Regions from separate parts of the Homo sapiens genome. Here region 2 is linked to region 1. The links are contacts of gene promoters, found by promoter capture Hi-C in blood cells and fetal thymus (Javierre and others, 2016). All regions are on one chromosome and are shown on one strand. The core of a region is centred on a gene start or on the middle of the fragment in contact, and the rest is flanking DNA. Distances in the headings are between cores, read along the strand shown.

Evidence for each region. The method cuts DNA at HindIII sites, captures the fragments that hold promoters and counts their contacts. A CHiCAGO score of 5 or more calls a contact.
Region 2: the fragment with the promoter of XKRX here is called in contact with the fragment with the promoter of ARL13A in region 1 in 12 of 17 cell types (neutrophils, naive CD8 T cells, fetal thymus and 9 more); the score reaches 10.9 in neutrophils.

The regions. Positions count from the first base shown.
Region 1 is chrX:100,966,692-100,972,552 of GRCh38, reverse strand. It overlaps ARL13A (ARF like GTPase 13A), which reads right to left and starts at 2,845. Exons shown (of 8, transcript NM_001162491.2): 1 at 2,744-2,845. The HindIII fragment of the contact is 2,181 bases long and covers 1,391-3,571 here.
Region 2 is chrX:100,926,220-100,932,080 of GRCh38, reverse strand. XKRX (XK related X-linked) reads left to right here and starts at 3,164. Exons shown (of 3, transcript NM_212559.3): 1 at 3,164-4,111. The coding sequence starts at 3,777. RefSeq lists enhancers at 2,518-2,567, 3,761-4,960. The HindIII fragment of the contact is 22,335 bases long and covers 1-5,861 here.

The DNA.
Region 1 (5,861 bases), core at 1,596-4,095:
GAGGTGGGGGTGTCAGTCCCCCGCCCGGCCAGCCGCCCCGTCCGGGAGGGAGGTGGGGGGGGTCAGCCCCCCTGCCCGGCCAGCCGCCCCGTCTGGGAGGTGAGGGGCGCCTCTGCCCAGCCGCCCCTACTGGGAAGTGAGGAGCCCCTCTGCCCGGCCAGCCGCCCCGTCCGGGAGGGAGGTTGGGGGGTCAGCCCCCCGCCCGGCCAGCCGCCCCGTCCGGGAGGTGAGGGGCGCCTCTGCCCGGCCCCCCCTACTGGGAAGTGAGGAGCCCCTCTGCCCGGCCACCACCCCGTCTGGGAGGTGAGCCCAACAGCTCATTGAGAACGGGCCAGGATGACAATGGCGGCTTTGTGGAATAGAAAGGCGGGAAAGGTGGGGAAAAGATTGAGAAATCGGATGGTTGCCGTGTCTGTGTAGAAAGAAGTAGACATGGGAGACTTTTCATTTTGTTCTGCACTAAGAAAAATTCCTCTGCCTTGGGATCCTGTTGATCTGTGACCTTACCCCCAACCCTGTGCTCTCTGAAACATGTGCTGTGTCCACTCAGGGTTAAATGGATTAAGGGCGGTGCAAGATGTGCTTTGTTAAACAGATGCTTGAAGGCAGCATGCTCGTTAAGAGTCATCACCAATCCCTAATCTCAAGTAATCAGGGACACAAACACTGCGGAAGGCCGCAGGGTCCTCTGCCTAGGAAAACCAGAGACCTTTGTTCACTTGTTTATCTGCTGACCTTCCCTCCACTATTGTCCCATGACCCTGCCAAATCCCCCTCTGTGAGAAACACCCAAGAATTATCAATAAAAAAATAAATTAAAAAAAAAAAAAAAAAGAAAATGAAAGCTGCAATAGAAACTCATAAATGAAAAAATTATCTCCTGACCATTTTTGAGAGAATGAGAGACATATTCTGCTCAGTGTAAAAGTGGTTATTAAAGTTATTTTGAAAAATTTCATTTAAAAAAAAAAAAATGTCATAGAAGGAGGAACTGGTTATTCTCAACTGCAGCGACAAGTTCTGTGCTAATGAGTAACTTTCTTCAAAATGGGGTGATTTCTTAGTATAGCAGACTACACAGACATAATCAGATGTGACCTATCCCTTCAGCCATAGTTCATCCTTGTTAAGAATATGTTTATTCAACCTTGCGGAGGTTGGGATGATGCCTAAGAGAAGAACCAACTTAGGCTTCTAGACGGACCTATCGGGAGACCTGTTCCAAGTACCAATAATGTCTCTTCTTCAAAGATGTGGGCATTGGTGACCCACTATTAGAGATTTTATACAAGTTTTGGGGCTATCAGGGACCTTAGAGATCGTCTAGTCTGGATTCAAACATTAATCCAGGTATCCCATCCTCAAAGATTGCCAGGGAGCTGCATAAGCTTCCCAGGTGATGTCAATGCGCAGCTGGATTTGGAAGTGAATGCCTAAGTAAAAAGGATAATTTAGGCAATCACTTCAAGGTTCATCCTTGGAAAGTGGATTGTTTCTACTTTTTGGCTGTTATGAATAATGCTGCTATAAACATTTGTATATAAGTTTTTGTGTGGATATGTTTTCTTTTCTCTTGGGTATATACCTAGGAGTATTACTGCTGGGTTATATAATAAATCTATATTTAACCTCTTGAAGAACTGCCAGACTGTTTTGCAAAGTGGCTACAACATCTTACATTCCCACCAGTAATGCTTGTTTTTTGTTTACAGCTATCCTAGTGGGTGTGAGGTAGGTATTTCATTGTGGTTTCAATTTACATTTTCCTAATGACTAATTATGGTTGACCCTTGAACAACATGGGTTTGAACTGCATGAGTCTACTTATACCAGGCTTTTTTTTTTTCAACCAAATGAGGATATTTGTGAATGTGAAACCCACGTATATGCAGGGCTAACTTTTCATATACATGGGTTTCGCAGTGCCAACTGCAGGATTTGAGAATGCACAGATTTTGGTATATGAGGGGGTTCAGGAACCCATTTCCCCCGAGTTTACTGAGGGACGACTGTATGTTGAAGCCCAAAATTGGAGGAAGCCCTGGTTGGGTTAGCAAAGTACTTCAGTTAATGCTTCGATGGGCTTTGCTTAGCTATCTGATGAGCACAGTTTATGTGCCAGCTTATCAATGGATAATTTATCAGGGTTCTGCAGAGTCATCCAGTCATTTACTGTTCTGGAGAGTTGCCATTCCAAAATACTAACATTTCATAGCATTTCTTATAGCACAGCTCAGACCCTAGGAGATCATTAGGTTTCCCATAAGGACCTCCTGGAGAATGGCTCTGGCTTATGCCAGACAAAAAAGAAACTTTATATATGGCCTGTGATCAAAACCAGCCTTACTCCAGTTTTGCACATGAAGCTGATATGACCAGGAGCCTGAAACATCAGAGCCTAATTGTCTGGGTTCCTTGATAGCCATCTCCCTTGGAGAAGAGGCCAGTAACCGCTTCATGTCTGTTTCCTAATAATTGGCAGAGCCTTCTAACTTGATGTCAGGCTCTCTGTGTTTGTCAGTGCCACCAAGAAGTGTCAAATTGGCATCACACAAGTTCTTCCTTTATAAGGAAGGGTAGGTATGAAAACCCAACTGGGAAAATGATTGAATTAGGGATTGCTGGACTGATCCTTTATTTCTAGTGCCTCTTCTGGGTAGCCTGAAGTGAAATCACCTCAACTAAACCTACCATTTCCAAATTTCTTATCTGTAAAATGAAGATAGTGACATATTTTGCTTACCATGAGGTGGTTATTTATCTGATAAGTTGATTCTTTTTGGATGGAAGACATAAGATATGCAGAGTAATAGGAAGACGCATTGAGCTTTCTAGCCTTCTTGTCAGATTAACACAGCTTAGGTTGTCCATTTATAAAAGCTATGGCAATGTCCTAATAATGGTTGTCACGGTACTGACATGTCTGTGGCAACCACTACCTGGTTCATAGCAACCAAACTCATATCTCCTTACCTTGTATGATTATAGATAATTACTAAAGGAACTTTAAGTCATCATAGTTTTTATTCATTTTACAAAATATTTATATAGAATTTACTTTGTGCCAGGGCTCATTAAAGCACTTTATACACATTAATTCATTTAATCCTTACTACAGCATGACAAAGTAGGGGCTATCATTCCTACTTTTCAGAGATGAAGTTGTTCACAAAGGGGTTACATAACTTGCCAAAGGTTACCTAGCTAATAAATGGTAAAGCCAGAATTCAAACCTAGGCATTCTGGCTTCAGGGTCTGTATTAGGTCAAAGGTCTTGCAGACCTCAGATACCAGAGAAACTGCCTCTGCTCTGCGTATCTCTATCTCTTCTAGCCAAACTGTATCATACTTAGTGAACTTTTTATAAAATGCTTTATTTTTCAGAATGGTTTTAGATATACAGAAAAATTGCTAAGACAGTACAGTGAGTAACCATCCCTAACACCCAATTTCCCTCATTGTTAACATCTTACGATGCTGTATTTGTTACAATTAATGAACCAGTATTAATACATTGTTATTAACTAAAGTCCATACTTCATTCAGATTTCCTTAGTTTTTAACTTAAGCTTCTCAGATTTTGTTTTGTTTTGTTTTTTGGAGACAAGGTCTGGCTCTGTGGCCCAGGCTGGAGTGCAGTAGTGTGATCATGGCTAACTGCAGCCTCAAACTCCTGGGCTCAAGCAATCCTCCTGCTTCAGCCTCCCAAGTACCTAGGACTGCAGGCATGCACCACCATCCTTGGCTAATTTATTTTTTATTCTTTTTAGAGAAGGGTCTTGCTATATTGCCCAGGCTGGTCTTGAAGCCTGGCCTCAAGTGATCCTCCCACTGTGGCCTCCCAAAGGGGTGGAATTATAGGCATGAGATACCACATCCAGCCACTCTATTTGTCTTTGATGACCTTGACAGGAGTGTTCATCAGGTATTTTGTAGAATACCCCTCACTTGTTGTTTATCTGATGTTTTTCTCATGATTAGACTGAAGTTATGTGTTCTTGGGAGGAAGGCCACAGAGGTAACGTGCCATCCTCATCACATCATATCAAGGATACATGCTGTCAACATGACTTATCACTGATGATGTTAACCTTGATCACCTGGCCGAGGCAGTGTTTATCAGATTTCTCCACTGTAAAGATACTCCCCCTACTTTCTATCCTGTACTCTTTAGAAGGAAATCAGTATGCATTGGCCATACTTATAGAATGGGGAGTTATCCTCCACCTCCTTGAGGTGGAGTATCTACAAAAGTTGTTTGGAATTCTTCTGTATGGGGGGGGGGTCTGTCTATTCTTACACATTTGTTTATTAAATCATTCATTTATACAGTATGGGCTCACATATATTTATTTTATCCTCTGATTATAATCAATACCTCTTTATTTTCTTGCTCAAGTCGTTCCAACTTTGGCCTGGGGAGCTCTTTCAGTTGACTCCTCCCTCTGACATACTCTCATCATTGTAGGTTTTTAAAAATTTTTATTATTCTTATTTTGAGACAGAGTCTTGCTCTGTCACCCAGGCTGGAGTGCAGTGGCACGATCTCAGACCACTGCAACCTCTACCTCCCAGGTTCAAGCAATTCTACTGTCTCAGACTCCCAAATAGCTGGGACTACAGGCGCACACCACCATGCCCGGCTAATTATTGTATTTTTAGTAGAGATAGGGTTTCACCATGTTGGCCAGGCTGGTTTTGAACTCCTACCTCAGGTGATCCACCCACCTTGGCCTCCCAAGTGCTTGGATTACAGGTATTAGCCACCGCATCCGGCCCACATACTTACTCTTAATTCTAAATTTTGAATTGGATCACAGACCAGGCCTTCAGCTAGGGTGACTTATGTATCTATTTGACCAGAACAGACTTGATGTGTGTTTTCCCCCAAGCCCATAGCCAAACTTGTATCCTAGCCTGTTTTCTTTCTTTCTTTCTTTCTTTTTTTTTTAAGACCAAGTTTTGCTCTTGTCGCCCAGGCTGAAGTGCAATGGTGCGATCTCGGCTCACTGCAACCTCCACCTCCCGGGTTCAAGCGATTCTCCTGCTTCAGCCTTCTGAGTAGCTGGGATTACAGGCTTGTGCCACCACACCTGGCTAATTTTTCTGTATTTTTAGTAGAAATGGGGTTTTGCCATGTTGACCAGGCTGGTCTTGAACTCCTGACCTCTGGTGACCGCCCCCGTCGGCCTCCCAAAGTGCTGAGATTACAGGCGTGAGCCACCGTGCCCGGCCTCCTGGCCTGTTTTCTTACGGTGTCTGGGCTTAGAATGGTTTTTACATTCTTAAAGGGTTAAAAAGAAAAAGAATATATGACAGAGACCGTATGTGTCTTCTAAAACCTAAAATATTTACTATCTGGCCATTTTTAGGAAAAATTTGCCAACCTCCATCCCAGAATCATTACTAATAGTGCCTCCTTTCATGCACAAAAGTGTCCAGGCTTGGATGATACTCTATATGAACACTTATCTTTATCTGAATGAGGCACTTTACAGTCCTTTGAAAGGTCTCAGCTGAAGGCTTTTCTAAATATGTAGATTGATTTTTGGCCAACTGGAGGTTGCGTTTTCCCTTTCTTTTCTCCATACTTGCCATCCAAGGGGAGCTGTCTATAGCTGAGATCTTGTGCTAGCCATCAAGGGAAGTAACCCAGTTGATACTGCTGTTTTTCTGTCATGCCCAGAAATGTGTTAGGTAGAGGAATAATTTACTGTACCTTTCCCCTATCTTGATTTAGTTGTTTTCTTATTTTATAGATGACTCTGAATTCATGTTATTTTCTTTGGTACCTGCTTAGAAGTATGGAGGAAAAGTTTTGACTGAAGAAGGTGAATGGAAATGTGACTGAGACAGGAAAC
Region 2 (5,861 bases), core at 1,915-4,414, 41 kb after region 1:
CTTTACAGGTCTATACCAGTCATGGGGGAGTCCAACAAAAGTACAGTAATAAGGGCTCTGCCCTCAAGGAGCCCGTGATAATTTAGTTGGGGAATAAAAATTAATATACTTGAAATAATTTTGGTGCTACACTCTGGTATAAACAAAAGAATGCTATAGAAATCCTTGAGAAGGGACAGATCATGTGGTCTGGGAACCTCTGTGAGCTGATGGCTGAATGAGACAGTGCTCATTCAGCCAGAGGAGTTTATGCCCCAGCTACAGTGGCCACAGCTTTTAGAGATGAGTGTGTCTGAGTCTTGCATGGTTTCAAGGAGGAAGTATGGGGGAGGAAGCGTCATCATCATCACCATTTGTCAATCACCATTGTCATCAACAAGTGCCACAATAAACAGTCATTGAGCATCCTTCCCTCACTAACTTTACATTTTTGGGGGGAGGCAGGACAAACACAGAAATAGTTGAAGGACTAGTATGAGAGAGCATGTGCCAGTAGCATGAAGAGAGAAAAATGAGGGTTGGGGAGGTGACAGAAGGCTTCTTGGAGGTGGGAGCACTTCGGCTGACCCTTGAAAGAAAGTTATGGTTTGGACTAATGGAGAAAAGGGTGAAGGGGGTTGTAAATCGCATCAACAAGGCAGAGGTGGGAGTGAGCAACGCAAATAGGAGAAGTGAGAAAACTGGCTGGCCTTGTGGAAGGAGTAGTGTGGGCAATAAAATCTGAGAGGGAAGTAGTGTGATGATTATATAGAGCCTTGAATGACAGACAGAAGGAGTCATTTTGGAACAAAGTAGGAAGGCATTGTAAATTTTTGTATTTGGGGAGAGACAAGGCCATGGAGAAGAAGGAGGAAAGGCTAAAAGGTAAACGTTGGGATTCTACATTCTTCTTCTTAGCTTTACTCTCCCATGTTTTTTTTTTTTTTTATTTTTAATTTTTATTTTTTTGAGATGGAGTTTCACTCTTGTCACCCAGGCTGGAGTGCAATGGTGCTATCTTGGCTCACTGCAACTTCTGCCTCCTGGGTTCAAGGGGTTGTCCTGCCTCAGCCTCCCGAGTAGCTGGGATTACAGGTGCCCACCACCACGCCCAGCTAATTTTTGAATTTTTAGTAGAGACAGGATTTCACCATGTTGGTCAGGCTGGTCTCAAACTCCTGATCTCAGGCCATTCACCCACCTTGGCCTCCCGAAATGCTGGGATTACAGGCATGAGCTACCGCGCCCGGCTGACTCTCTCATGTTTAGGGGGACCAACTCACCCTATCCCAGTGAAATGGGATTAATTGGTCACCTTGCCTGAGATTCACCTTGTGAACAGTTACCTAGAGCAGCCCCAAGAGGTTCTGCACCATATACTGGTGGTGGAGAACCTTGTCCCAGTTGGAATGTCCCAACTAATAAGAAAAAGAACACTCTCTGAAGTTGTTCTCAATAGTGTTGACCTCCTTCATGAAATGGAAAGGAGAAAGGAGCAGCCTCCTAGCCCAGCTGCTAGCATAGGTGCAGACCAAGATGCGGAGTCTGCTTCAGAAGGTGACAACCTTTAGATGTTGAATCTGTCCCTGAATCAGCCCTGGGGAAAGGAGGCAGCAATCATGGAAACCTTAAAAAAACAAAAAACAACATAATGACAGGACAACCTGGAGGCCATTATTTTGGTGGCTGCTACTTGGCCACTCCTCACATAGATTTGTTTTACTGACTTCCTGCAGCAAAAGGAGATTGGCACAGGCTCTGCTACATAATCATCATTATTATTATTATTATTATTATTATTATTATTATTATTAAGACGTAATCTTGCTCTGTTGCCCAGGCTGGAGTGCAGTGGCGTGATCTCAGCTCACTGCAACCTCTGCCGTCCGGGTTCAAGTTTTTCTCCTGCCTCAGCCTCCTGAGTAGCTGGGATTACAGTCACGCACCACCACGACCAGCTGATTTTTGTATTTTTAGTAGAGATGGGGTTTCACCACGTTGGCCAGGCTGGTTTCGAACTCCTGACCTCAAGTGATCTGCCTGCCTCAGCCTCCCAAAGTGCTGGGATTACAGGCGTGAACCACTGTGCCTGGCCTTCATCTATATTATTACCAGGAGGCAGATGTGTTCTCTTTTTCTCTGAGGTTTAGAATTATGCAAATGAAGATATGAAAACAAAAGCTCAGTGAGGTGGGGAGGATTACACTTAAGAATACAGGTAATTTTCAAAGCTCTTTAAGACACCCCTCTCAGTTTTTACTAACAGCTCTCTCTTGGCTCTTTGCCAGTCTGTTTAGAATTTGGCACCTCTTCATAACCTTTCAACCAAAGACCTGTAAGTTCATTCTAAAGCTCCTATCCTGGCCTCATTTTGCAAGTGGAGAAATCAAGGCATAAAATATGAGCTTTCAGTGTCTGTGGGCTGACCTTGAGTCTTGACCTTTATCCTGTTCTATCTTCCCTCCGCCGAAAACTCTGACCCTATTCCTCCCAGGTTCCCCCTTCATGATATTATCTGGAGGGCAATAGGACCTAGGGAGGTTCCACCCTGCGGCGGAGGGAGACACACCTGCCTAACAGCGTGGGTAGAGTGAGTGTTGAAGCAAGTCACTTAACTAGTTAGGGAGGGCGGGGTAGAAGTGGGGGCCTGCTGCTCCTAGGGAGGAGTAAAGCTGTGGCTCCTGCCTGGGTCTGGAGGTGGTGGTCAGAAGTGCTTCTGAAGAGCGGCCCAAGCCCCTTTTTGTCCCGCCACTCCACAACGAGCATCCCTCGGCTGGCCGCCTGCCCGGGAACTCTCCGGCTGGTTTTGTTTGGCCGCAGCCGTCCCGCCCATCTCGCCCGCCCCCGCCGTCCCGGTGCCTTAGTTTTTGAAGCTGCCGACCTCTCGCAGCTGGAATCGCAGACCAGGCAGGACCCTGGCAGCAGACGGCGTCCAAGAGTTTGGCGACCTCCGTCCAGCCAGGTTGGCGCCCCGCACATCGTGCCTCTCACTAGCAAAGTTTCTCCGAGGAGAAGCAGCCCCTCCAGCCTTTTCTTCATCCTGTAGAGCGAGCGCGCTCTGCTTCTGTCCCTCAACACTGCATTCGGAGACAGGGTGGTGACAATACTCCACTCCCGGGCCAGGCGGTCTTGGGGGCGGGGCTTGGGGGAATCCGAGGAGCTATCCTGAGAACCCTGGACTCGGCAAAGGTCCTGAGAGCGCGCAGGTGAGCGGGCCAGCTGATAGCTACAGCCTAGCAATAGCTAGGATACCTAGGCACTGAACTGAATCCCCTCTTCTGCCCTCCTTCTTCTGCGCCCGCTCTTCTGCCCTGGCTCAGCTCTCCGCTGACTTGAGAGGACACACTGGTCAGGACTCTTTGTGAGGAGCTGCTGAGTGTCGGTGCCCCCGACAGATCGGCTACACCCTGCCTGAGGGGCTGCGAAAGGAGCCGCCACGGAAGCCGCTGTTCTCATGACTCTTCACGTCCCTGGAGTTGGACTCTGGATGGGGCGCTGGGATGCTTGCTTTTGTCTTGTTCAAGTTTCACAGCAAGTATGTTGACGATTGGAATCGGGGCCAATCAAGAGTCAAGTTCAAAGTGGTACTCCTGGGCTTTCCATCCCAGACTCCAAGTCGAATCTGAGTCTAGAAGAGAGCGGTTTCTTGCTCTAACTAGTGAATCTCTGTTCCCAAACTGGACTTGACAGAGCTCTCCTCACCTATACTTGGACTGTAGCGGCCATAGGGTTCTCTTGGGGATGGGTGGGAGGGTGCTATGAACACAAGACCACAACATTCAGAAAGAACCTCGACAATGGACAGAGTTTATGAAATTCCTGAGGAGCCAAATGTGGATCCGGTTTCATCTCTGGAGGAAGATGTCATCCGTGGAGCCAACCCCCGATTTACTTTTCCATTTAGCATCCTTTTCTCCACCTTTTTGTACTGTGGGGAGGCTGCATCTGCTTTGTACATGGTTAGAATCTATCGAAAGAATAGTGAAACTTACTGGATGACATACACCTTTTCTTTCTTTATGTTTTCATCCATTATGGTCCAGTTGACCCTCATTTTTGTCCACAGAGATCTAGCCAAAGATAAACCGCTATCATTATTTATGCATCTAATCCTCTTGGGACCTGTTATCAGGTGAGCAACTTTTAAATCTTTTCCTTACCCCCCTAACCCCACCCCAGACTTGGGCAGAGAAAGATGAAAGATTTACAAGATGGATACTATGGCTCTAATCAATTCTCTCATTTCCTCCCACTCTCGGCTTCCCTGTCTACCATTCAGAAAACTTACCTGAAATCTTAAATGCCACCATGATGAACATGTGGTATGTACTTGTGTTCCAAAACAATGAACGATGCTATTTGGCCTGTGTAAACTAGAATGGGAACAACAAGACGTGATCACCCTGTGCATGAAGGCCATAGCTGCAGAGTGTGTAATTTTATTTAAAAAATTTTTTTTTTCTGAGACAAGGTCTTGCTCTGCCTCCCAGGCTACAGTGCAGTGGTGCGATCATGGCTCACTGCAGCCTTGATCTCCTGGGATCAAGCGAACCTCCCACCTCAGCCTCCAAGTAGCTGGGACCAAAGGAATGTGTCACCATGCCTGGTTAATTAAAAAAAAATTTTTATAGGCCGGGTGTGGTGGCTCATGCCTGTAATCCCAGCACTTTGGGAGGCTGAGGCGGGTGGATCACCTGAGGTCAGGAGTTCAAGACCAGCTGGCCAACATGGTGAAACCCCTGTCTCTACTAAAAATCAGCTGGGTGTGGTGGCGCATATCTGTAATCCCAGCTACTCTGGTGGCTGAGGCAGGAGAATCACTTGAACCCGGAAGGTAGAGGTTGCAGTGAGCCAAGATCGGTGCCACTGCACTCCAGCCTGGGCGATAGAGTGAGACTCCATCTCAAAAAAAAAAAAATTTTTTTTGTAGAGACGGGATCTCGTTATGTAGACTGGGCTCAAGTGATCTTCCTGCCTCAGCCTCCCAAAGTGAGCCACCGCGCCTGGTCTGAGTGTGTAATTTTGACTCTACCTTTTGGATGCTTTGTAAATTGGATAAAAGTTTCTTTACCCTGAGCTGCTTGGGCTGGTGCTACTGCCATTTTCAAATTTTCCAGAGTAATGTGACATCTGGAAACTATTTTAAACCATCTGTGGTAATCTGTACCCCAACCCAATATAGTTCAGTTCTCTGTCGGTTTATCAGTTTCCTATTTATCTCTTTGTATATTTCTGCAATAAAGATACGAAGTTGGGAGGGGGCAAAGGAAGGCAGTTCATCTCTCTATGTGGATGCAGTAGCACAATTTAATAGTATCAAGTATTTCCATTCAGATTGCCTTGAAGTGGAAAGAATGCACTTAATCCTAGCGAGATAGGCACCTGTGTCAACAGTCTCATCTGGATGCTATGGGGTTTTCAAGGTAGAGAGATGTTGCAAAACTTATGAGTTCAGGAGTAAGGAATGGACCAAGTTTGTCTTGATTGCAAGAGAGGCAGACAACTGCAGTCAGCCGAGGAATATGGGTCAGAGTGTTGCAATGGGAAGATACCTCATCATTAGACAACTAAAAAGTCTGTGAAACTAATTAAGGATGGAACTCACTCCTTTATAAAATTTCATATCTGTACACATGTATAATTTTTATTTGTCACTTATACCTCAATAAGGCCAAAAAAATTTTTTATCAATAAATTTTTAAGTGGGGAGGAATCGATTAGGCTCTATCAGAGAGAATATGGGATATCAATGGAAACAGTGGCCTGAAATTTGGAGTCTAGTCTTCCCCCTGTCATTGACTGGTTGTGTGTTCTTGGTAAAATCTCTGAAGATGGCTTCACAGGAAGGCATATAGAGTTCCCTCATCTGTAAAGCAAATGGG